3 separate regions of the Homo sapiens genome follow, and regions 1 and 3 are each linked to region 2. Evidence: promoter capture Hi-C in 16 types of primary human blood cells and fetal thymus (Javierre and others, 2016). All regions are on one chromosome and are shown on one strand. The core of a region is centred on a gene start or on the middle of the fragment in contact, and the rest is flanking DNA. Distances in the headings are between cores, read along the strand shown.

Region 1 (2,700 bases), core at 118-2,617, 610 kb after region 2:
CACCCACTTCTGAGGACTGACTACCTGTTTGCACAAAGTGGTGTCTGTCTGCAGATAACCCTTCACTTTCCTTGGTGTACCTATCTCTACATTTTGGTTGTGAGTACCTGGAGGGCAAAAACCTTATCCCAAAATCCTCCTGCTCACCACCCACCCCCACCCCATCCTATATGCCTAGTTCCTGGCTGAGTCCAAAGCTCAGTGTCCAGTTTGATTGACAGGCGAGAGGCTGTGCAGGACCAGATACGATGAGCCACACTCCAGACTAGCAGGAATTTTCCTCAGGGGCAACACGTCCTCTAAAAACCTTCACTGGCAAGAAACCAAGAAACTTGAAGTGAGAAGAGAAACAGGATGAGGAGGGGATAACTGTGGCAAAATAGACCACACTTCAAAGGCTGAGGTTCAAGTTCCAGCTCTGCCTCTCTGTGAGCTCTGCAAGGGGCCTAACCTCACTCTGGTTTTCACATTTTCCCATTTCTAACCAGGTAACAAGATGATCCTCTCAGAGGAGAGTTGCAAGGCTTACATAAAGCCAGATGTGTAGCCATGTCTAGAATGTACTCACTCACTTAACAAATACTCATGAAACATCTGTAATGTGCCAAGCACTGAGGGCAACACAGAAGGGAACAAAAGACTGGCTAAACAGTCTGTGAAAACCAGAAAACTGTCATCAACAACACAGCAAGAGTAAAGAGGGAGGTGTGGGCATGCACAGGACACAAGGAGAGGGCCTCTCACCTGCCTGTGGTCAGGAAGCCTGGAAGGATGTCCTCGCCGACTGCACAGCCATGTTCTGTTTGCAAGGATAGAGGGAGCAGCATGCCTAGTCGGGGTGGTGGGGAAAGTACAACACAGGGAAGTGTGAAATCAGTAGTTCTGAGAAGGAGGCCTTCTGGCTTGGGATGGCTGGAGGGCAGAATGACTGTGGGCGACCAGCCTGGAGAAGAAGGCCTGACTCAGGAGGGCCTGCATGCAGAGCAGAGTTAGTCCTCATCCTCAGGTCCACGGGAGGCCACAGAAGCATTTTAAGCTAGAATGAGGATGACAGATAGTAGTGAGGCAGGCTGAGATGCAGGAAGGCCAGCGAGATCCAGCAAGGAGGATGTGGCTTGTGTGGGGGCTGTTGTCGCCACGTGTTAGCCAACCATGTGCATGTGAAAGAGGCTGACTTACAAGAATCTGCTCCTGTAAGCCCAGAGAGGCCCAGGGACAACTTCCACTTTATTCTGGATGTTTTCACTTTTGGGACATCCTGTTCTGAGTCAAGATTCCTCCTTCTGAACATGGGACTTTCCAGAAGGACCACAGCTCCTCCCGTGCATCCACTCGGCCTGGGAGGTTCTGGATTTTGGCTGTCGAGGGAGTTTGCCTGCCTCTCCAGAGAAAGATGGTCATGAGGCCCCTGTGGAGTCTGCTTCTCTGGGAAGGTAAGTGGGGCAGGCAGATAGCCTGTCCTCGGAGAGCTGAAGGCCCCTCCCCAGCTGCCTATGCCAGACGTCTGGGCAGGGATCCCTCGACCTGGGTGAGAACCCAGAAGCTGAGGGTGGGTAGGAAAGACTAGAACAAGCTCTTGGGCAACATTTTAAGCTAGGCAGATACAAAGAGATGCAGGGTCCTGGGAGGGAGGAGGTGGCAGCTTGAGGGGTATTCTTATCTGTGAGACATGAGCTGTTTTGTGGCCCAGAGCAGTAAAAACGGAGCCAGTGGGTGATACTGCTGGTTTGGAGAGAAAGTCGGCTGTGAGAATGGTGAGGACCCGGCAGTGTTAGCATGCAGAAACTCTGCAGAGTTTGAGGAGAGTAGCAGAGGGCAGGGCAGAGCAGGGTTCCCCACAATCAGCAGAGTGTGTTTTCAACAGCCTGTGGGGGAGCTGAGGTCCCTCCCTACAGGCCTTTATAAGGGGAGGCAAGTACTAAGTAGGGATGAGAGAGGCTAAATGTGGCCCACGTGGACTTAGGGGTGGCCGACGGTGGTGTGATGTTGGGATGGCTGATACACGGGGTCTCCTCCACACCGGGCGATCCCTCTATCCATCTGATGCCTGAGTTCCCTTCCTTGGTCAACAAGCAGCCAACATGACATGGGTCAACACTGCCGGGCCATGGATGAGGGTTTATGGGGTGCAGCAAAGATTAAGATGATATTGTTTACATCAGAGGCTCATAGGGACTTTGGGTTGCTTTGTTTCATCTCCTTGCCTGAGTTCCTGGCCCTGAGAGCTCCAAAGCCTGCAGATTTCTTCAATATTTCTAAACATGTGCAGGAAATCACACCTTAACCTCAAAAAAGGCCTTGGTCTGTTTGGTGAGACAAAAATAATTTGCCTTTTTTTTTTTTCTTTGAGACGGAGTCTTGCTCTGTCACCCAGGCTGGAATGCAATGGTGCATCTCAGCTCACTGTAACCTCTGCCTCCTGGGTTCAAGCGATTCTCCTGTCTCAGCCTCCTGAGTAGCTGGGATTACAGGTCACTGCCACTAAACCCGGCTAATGTTTGTATTTTTAGTAGAGACAGGGTTTCATCATGTTGACCAGGCTGGTCTCAAACTCCTGACCTCAAGTGATCCGCCCTCCTCAGCCTCCCAAAGTGCTGGAATTACAGGCATGAGCCACCACACCCAGCCCAAAAATAATTTTTCAAATGGCCCTTAATGATCAAAGATCTGTGTGACTGACCTGGTACAGACCCCTTATTT
Region 2 (2,898 bases), core at 295-2,794:
CACCTTCCCTCAGGCCTCTGTGCCTTAGTGTGGGGCTGCTCCATTGGCCTGGAAAGCTCTCAACACCTCCCCTTCATCTAGCTAATGCCTACATGTTCGAGACTTAGCTCTGGTGTTTCCTGACCTGAGCCCATCCTCTCTGTCCCCGCAAGCTGGGTTGGTGAGGTAGGTGTGACTGCTCTGTGCTCCTGAAGCACACTGGGCGTAATAATGACTATCGTGTATTATTTAACCTCTGTCCTTATGTGTTTGTTGGTCCCGCTAACCGGGTTTCTTAAGGACAAAGGTTGTGGCTTCCTTTTACTTTCCAGAACATAGCCCAGTGCTGGACAGATAGTATGCATTCCAAATGTCTGTTGTGTATGTTAATGTATGTATTGAGGATAGAAGTTAAGTACAAAACCCTTTGGGAGCTAATGGACTCTTTTTACTAAGGAGAAAAATGGGGCTCTCCAATCAGAAGCTATGCAGCTTGTCCAAGTATCAACTGTTAGAAACCAGAAAATTCTGAGATTTGAACCCAGGTCTATGTTCCAGATGAATTTAAGGTCCTTGTTCCCTTTTCTCTTATGTGCTCAGCTGGTGATAAGTCATAACAGCACTGCCCTGTTGCTGCATTTCCCATCATAAACTCAAGACATTCAGATCTAACCTTCCAGGAGGGACCTTAAAGCGAACCAGATTTTGCTTTTGTGTTTCTATTTTATTATTTATTTATTTATTTAGTGTTTTTTTTTTTTGTTTTTTTTTTGAGTATGCAGTCTCACTCTGTCGCCCAGGCTGGAGTACAGTGTCACGATCTCAGCTCACTGCAACTTCCACCTCCGGGGTTTAAGCGATTCTCCTGCCTCAGGCTTCCGAGTAGCTGGGACTACAGGCATACGCCACTATGCCTGGCTAATTTTTGTATTTTTAGTAGAGATGGGGTTTCACCTTGTTAGCCAGGTTGGTCTCAAACTACTGACTTCAGGTGATCTTCTGGCCTTGGCCTCCCAAAGTGCTGGGATTACAGGCGTGAGCCACCGCTCCCGGCCTGCCTGCTTGTTTTACAGATGGTGGCTGAGGCTCAGGGATGTGGAACGTTCCCACATTACTGTAATACTCACAGCAATATGATAATGTTATCATGTTATTACATCATGGTGGGGCCAAAATGGGATGGCAGGCACTGGGCATGAGGCAGGGGACAAGGATGAGACAGGCTGGTTTTTCTACATCAGCCCAGAATAAATCAAAGCAATGTATATTTATTGACCGTGAGCTTATCTGGGTGCCCGAGCCCCCTCCCAAACCCCAGCAATAGGAGAAAGGTGACCAGGAGAACAAAGGCGGATGTTTCTCCAGCTACCCTCTCAGGTTAGAGGGAGAACTGGACGGAATCCATCACTTGGAGACTGCTTCCTTCTGGCCTCACCACAAGGGGCCACATCCAGATGGAGAAAATAGTTAGGAGGGTCGCACATTTGCATACATTTGCATGTGTTTGCATATTCACACAGAACATGCAGCTCATTCTCAGGCAATTTTCAAGTAAATGTGATTATTGCCACCTTCAGGTTGTCAAGGATAGATTTTGCTCTTCTCACTTTCATTCTCACCCACCCACGGTCTCTGGGCCCTGATACAGGACGAGCCAGTGTGTGCGTGTCGGGGAAGGGGATACGTGAAGGCGCAGGAGCACCAGCACCAAGGAGAGGTGGCACCTGGGGCCAGGCACAAGGGCAGCACAGCAGCCTCTCCTTAGGCTGAATCCTCAAAGCACGCCATGCCGGCTGCTAGGTGACATCTGCTGTGTTCCTGCTAACAACTATGCTGATTGGAATGGACATTCTCAGCAAGTTACATGCTTTTTCACTGGTGAGGTGGCAGTGCAAGACAAAAATCTCTTTGGCACATAGGACAGTGGGCAGATGATGAACATTATATGAATATAAGCTGTGAAGTCAAACATCAAGCTCCCAGTCCCTTGAGACTCTTTTCCTCTAGAGTGTATTACCCCCCAATCCGCCTTTTCTTATAGAACCTGCTTTCCCTACTGTTTGGCTCACAGTAGGTGCTTCCCAACAGCCTTTTAATGGTTCAGGGGCTCAAAAGGCCCAGAGGGGAGCCTGTTTGTTCTTGCAGGCTGCCAGACAGTGGGCAGGCACAGCTATGTGCATGGAGAACAGAGGAAATAAAGAACAAGCCTGATCATTGCTGTTCTGCCTGGCGCTGAGAGGAGAGTCTCAGAAGCAACAGGACGTCAGGGTGTTCCTTCTTTGACTTATTAAGTCAGAGAAAAGACTCCCCTGGCTGATGATTCCTGTGAGTTTGAATACTGAGATAGCATATGAGTTAAATGAGAGAACTGTTTTACTAATCATAGATTCAAAATTCTCCTATATGAATTTGCTGACCAACTAATCAACAAATACCTTCTGTGTGCCTCAGCCAAGCTGAGTAGCTGAACTCTAGTAGGCATTCAGTAAACATCTTAATTTTTTTTTATTTATTATATTTTAAGTTTTAGGGTACAATGCAGTGTAGATATTGTACTGTTATTGTGGAATTCAGAAATGAAAAACATACAGACCTTGGTTTCTACGAACTCAGAGTCTATAAAAATTTTAATACTTGAAATATTTTATTAATATTAATAATATAATAGAAGGCATATAACACAGTTGTCTTAGTCTCTTCAGACTGCTATAACAAAATGCCATAGGCCGGGTGGCTTATGAACAACAAACATCCATTTCTCACAGTTCTCCATGCTGGAAAGTCCTAGATCAAAGTGCTGGCAGATTCGGCATCCGGTGAGGTCCAGTTTCCTGGTTCTTAGACAGTTGCCTTCTTTCATGTCCTCATGTGGCAGAAGGGACAAGGGGAGTCTCTGGGGTCTCTTTTATAATGGCACTT
Region 3 (2,700 bases), core at 173-2,672, 640 kb after region 2:
CCCCAAAAGCACCAGAAACTGGCCATGCTTTACGGGGTGTCATCTCAATAGTGGTGCCTACTCTCTGCTTGCAAATTCTTTCTGAATCTTCAAGGTGCTTCCAGAACTCCTGATCTTCCCTCTGGAGGTAAGGGAGGGGAGAAAAGGCGGCTCCAGCTGAGGGTATTGATGCGTTAATGCAGCCAGTGCTGAGTTGTCCTCACACACCCATTGACACACCACACAGGGGGAAGTCCGGGTCCCCACAGCACAGCTGGAGCCTCCCGAGTGGACTCTGCCAGCCCTGCTCTCATCAGACAGAGAAGGGCTGCAGCTATCCTGCCGGAAATGTCATCATTCCCATGCAGGTGCACGCACCCACACACTCACATACACATTCACGCTCACACAAAGGCTGAAAATGTCACCCCGCCTTCCCAAATTCCTCCTTCATGCCCCTTCATCCCAAATCCAGACTGCAAGAGGGACTCGGAGCCCTTTCCAGTGATGTTGGCATAGAATGCCCCTTGGTGGAACTTGCCCCAACCTGGGCAGGAAGCCACAATGTCCAAACTTGAGCCCTGCCCTGTGGACCTGTCCTGGTGGGGTGAGAAGTCTCTGGAGTTGCCATCCCCACCACCCTCAGGCCTCATCCTAGAGTGGGGCACTGCCCTGTCATAGCACAGGGGGCCCAAGGCTGAGGTCTCAGGCCTGAGCTGTCACTGGCCATGATGGAAGAAACCACTCAGACTTACACCAGACTTAGTCTCTTGCCCTTTCAAGGCAAGTGACTTCCCTGCCCCTTGGCCCTGGCCTTGGGAGAGAAGGAGTAGCGTTGGGAATAGCACACAGTCTGATGAAAATTGATCCTTCCCAAGCTCCTCCTGAGCCCTCACCCAATGCCCGTGCTTACCCCTCTCCTACCCCACCTCCAGCTCCTGCAGAGCAATCAATCCCTCTCCTCCTAGTCACGGCATGAGCTTGCAGGGCACCTGCACACATGTGTGAGCCCGACAGGGGACATATAAAGATCCACTCAAAGACCTCTGCACTACAGACACACACCCTGAACATCAGGCACAGGGTCTCCTGGGGAAAGGTCCCCTGGTAATACCCACACCCGGCTGCAGCAGGGCAAGGGTGGGCAGCACCCTGCCAGGCAACTCAGGCAGCCCCAGGCTCCACTGTGAGCCCTTGCTGCCCCTTTCCTTCCCACCTAGCCTCATGCTGGCTACCCTGCCCCCTGCCCAGCCCCGTACCTGGGCTCAGGCACACGAGTAGAAGGTGGAATGCTCCTCCAACTCTCATGTCTCTAGGCTCGGTGTTTCCTCCGTCTGGGCTGGGTATCCCGTGGGGTCGTAGTGGTGGGTGTGAGGGGGTAGGTGGAGGGAGGGGGAGCTGAGGGCCCAGACACTGCCTGGGGTGGCAGGAAGGTGCAATGAGTGCCCAGCTGGGGAGCAGCTGGAGTTATTTCTATGGGAGGGAGGGGGCCTGGTCCCCGCCTTGGGGAGGAGTCCCAGGAACCCTAATTAGCAGGGTGACAGGGTGGCCTACCTGGGCATTACCCAGCCCTCACCCAAGCTCTTCCCTGTCCTAAGAGTGGCACAGGACAGCCAGCGGGACTTGTAATTAGGCACCTGTTAAACTTCACTTCCTCCTGGCCACATCCTCAGGGTGACAACAGTCACCTCATTTACAGCTTCCAAGGGCTCCCCTCACCACTCATTTGCTGCCTCCTTCCCTGGGGGAAGTGGGGAAGAGGAAGGAGAAGCCAGGCTTGGGAGAAAGAGTGGCCAGGACCTGAAGAGTTAATCCTGATCCCAGGGCATAGGGTTCCCCAGGAGTGTCCAGCCCACCTTCCCCCAGGCTTCAGGCCTTTCAAAGGGACTCAGGCCTCCTGAGCTGAAAGAGGAGAGAAGGGGTGTGTGCAGGAACAGAGTCTCCTCCTGGCTGTCCCCTCTGGAACTGTCCTCCACACCCATACTCGACTCAAGGCCATCCCCAAGTGTAGGGGACCCCTGGGAGCAGGGGTGCTATGGGGGGTCCAGGGTGTGTGCTAGGAGTAAGGTGACTGATGGGCTAGTGAGGGAGTGTTGGAGAGAACAGCGCCAAGAGGACCAGGGAAGGGGGTGCCTGTGTAAGCGTGTGCACCCCTCAGCAATGTCTGTGGGAGGGAGGCAGGATGTCTGTGTCAGGGTGTCTCTGTGAGGATGGCTAAGCCCCTCTGAGTGAACTTCTTGAGGGATCGCTTGGTGTCCTGGCTTCTCTGCCCAGAAAGAGTAGCCAGGTCTTGAGGGTTAATGCAGTCCCAGTATTAACTGGGTCCTTGAGACCAAGGACCCTCATAACCTGGACTGGTCATCGGGCTGACTAAACCAGCACAGTTCTGGGTAAGTTCGTGCTGGGGTGGGGAGGGTCCTGGTAGGCATGGGGAGCAAGTGAAGGGCCACCCCTTGTTGGCTTGTCTAAGGGGGACAGAATGGGCATGTGCCTTGTTGGACTCCATGGTGGGAGTCAGGACATGAGTGACCCCATTCAATAGCTCAACTCCCTCAAAGGAGTCAGGGACTGCCCCCATCCCTACCATGGGGCACAGAAAGGGCAGAGGAGGAAGAGTGTTAGGGAGAGTTATGGGGCTCAGGGATGCTGCCAGGGCCCACCCCTCTGGGGAAAAATAAGTCAGAACATTAAGGAAACACAAGGAGTCCACGCGTCTCTGCA

Evidence for each region. The method cuts DNA at HindIII sites, captures the fragments that hold promoters and counts their contacts. A CHiCAGO score of 5 or more calls a contact.
Region 1: the fragment with the promoter of SLAMF8 here is called in contact with a fragment that was not itself captured in region 2 in 1 of 17 cell types (megakaryocytes); the score reaches 5.5 in megakaryocytes.
Region 3: the fragment with the promoter of VSIG8 here is called in contact with a fragment that was not itself captured in region 2 in 2 of 17 cell types (erythroblasts and total B cells); the score reaches 5.8 in erythroblasts.

What each region holds. Positions count from the first base shown.
Region 1 is chr1:159,825,506-159,828,205 of GRCh38, forward strand. SLAMF8 (SLAM family member 8) reads left to right here and starts at 1,368. Exons shown (of 5, transcript NM_020125.3): 1 at 1,368-1,433. The coding sequence starts at 1,394. The HindIII fragment of the contact is 24,464 bases long and covers 1-2,700 here.
Region 2 is chr1:159,217,359-159,220,256 of GRCh38, forward strand. No RefSeq gene overlaps it. Among named protein-coding and RNA genes, the nearest start is that of ACKR1, 14 kb to the left of the region's middle. The HindIII fragment of the contact is 3,320 bases long and covers 1-2,898 here.
Region 3 is chr1:159,861,235-159,863,934 of GRCh38, forward strand. VSIG8 (V-set and immunoglobulin domain containing 8) reads right to left here and starts at 1,423. Exons shown (of 7, transcript NM_001013661.1): 1 at 1,239-1,423. The coding sequence starts at 1,287. It overlaps LOC107985216 (a long non-coding RNA gene), which reads left to right. Exons shown (of 2, transcript XR_001738263.2): 2 at 1-2,700. RefSeq lists enhancers at 1-838, 839-1,751. The HindIII fragment of the contact is 16,901 bases long and covers 1-2,700 here.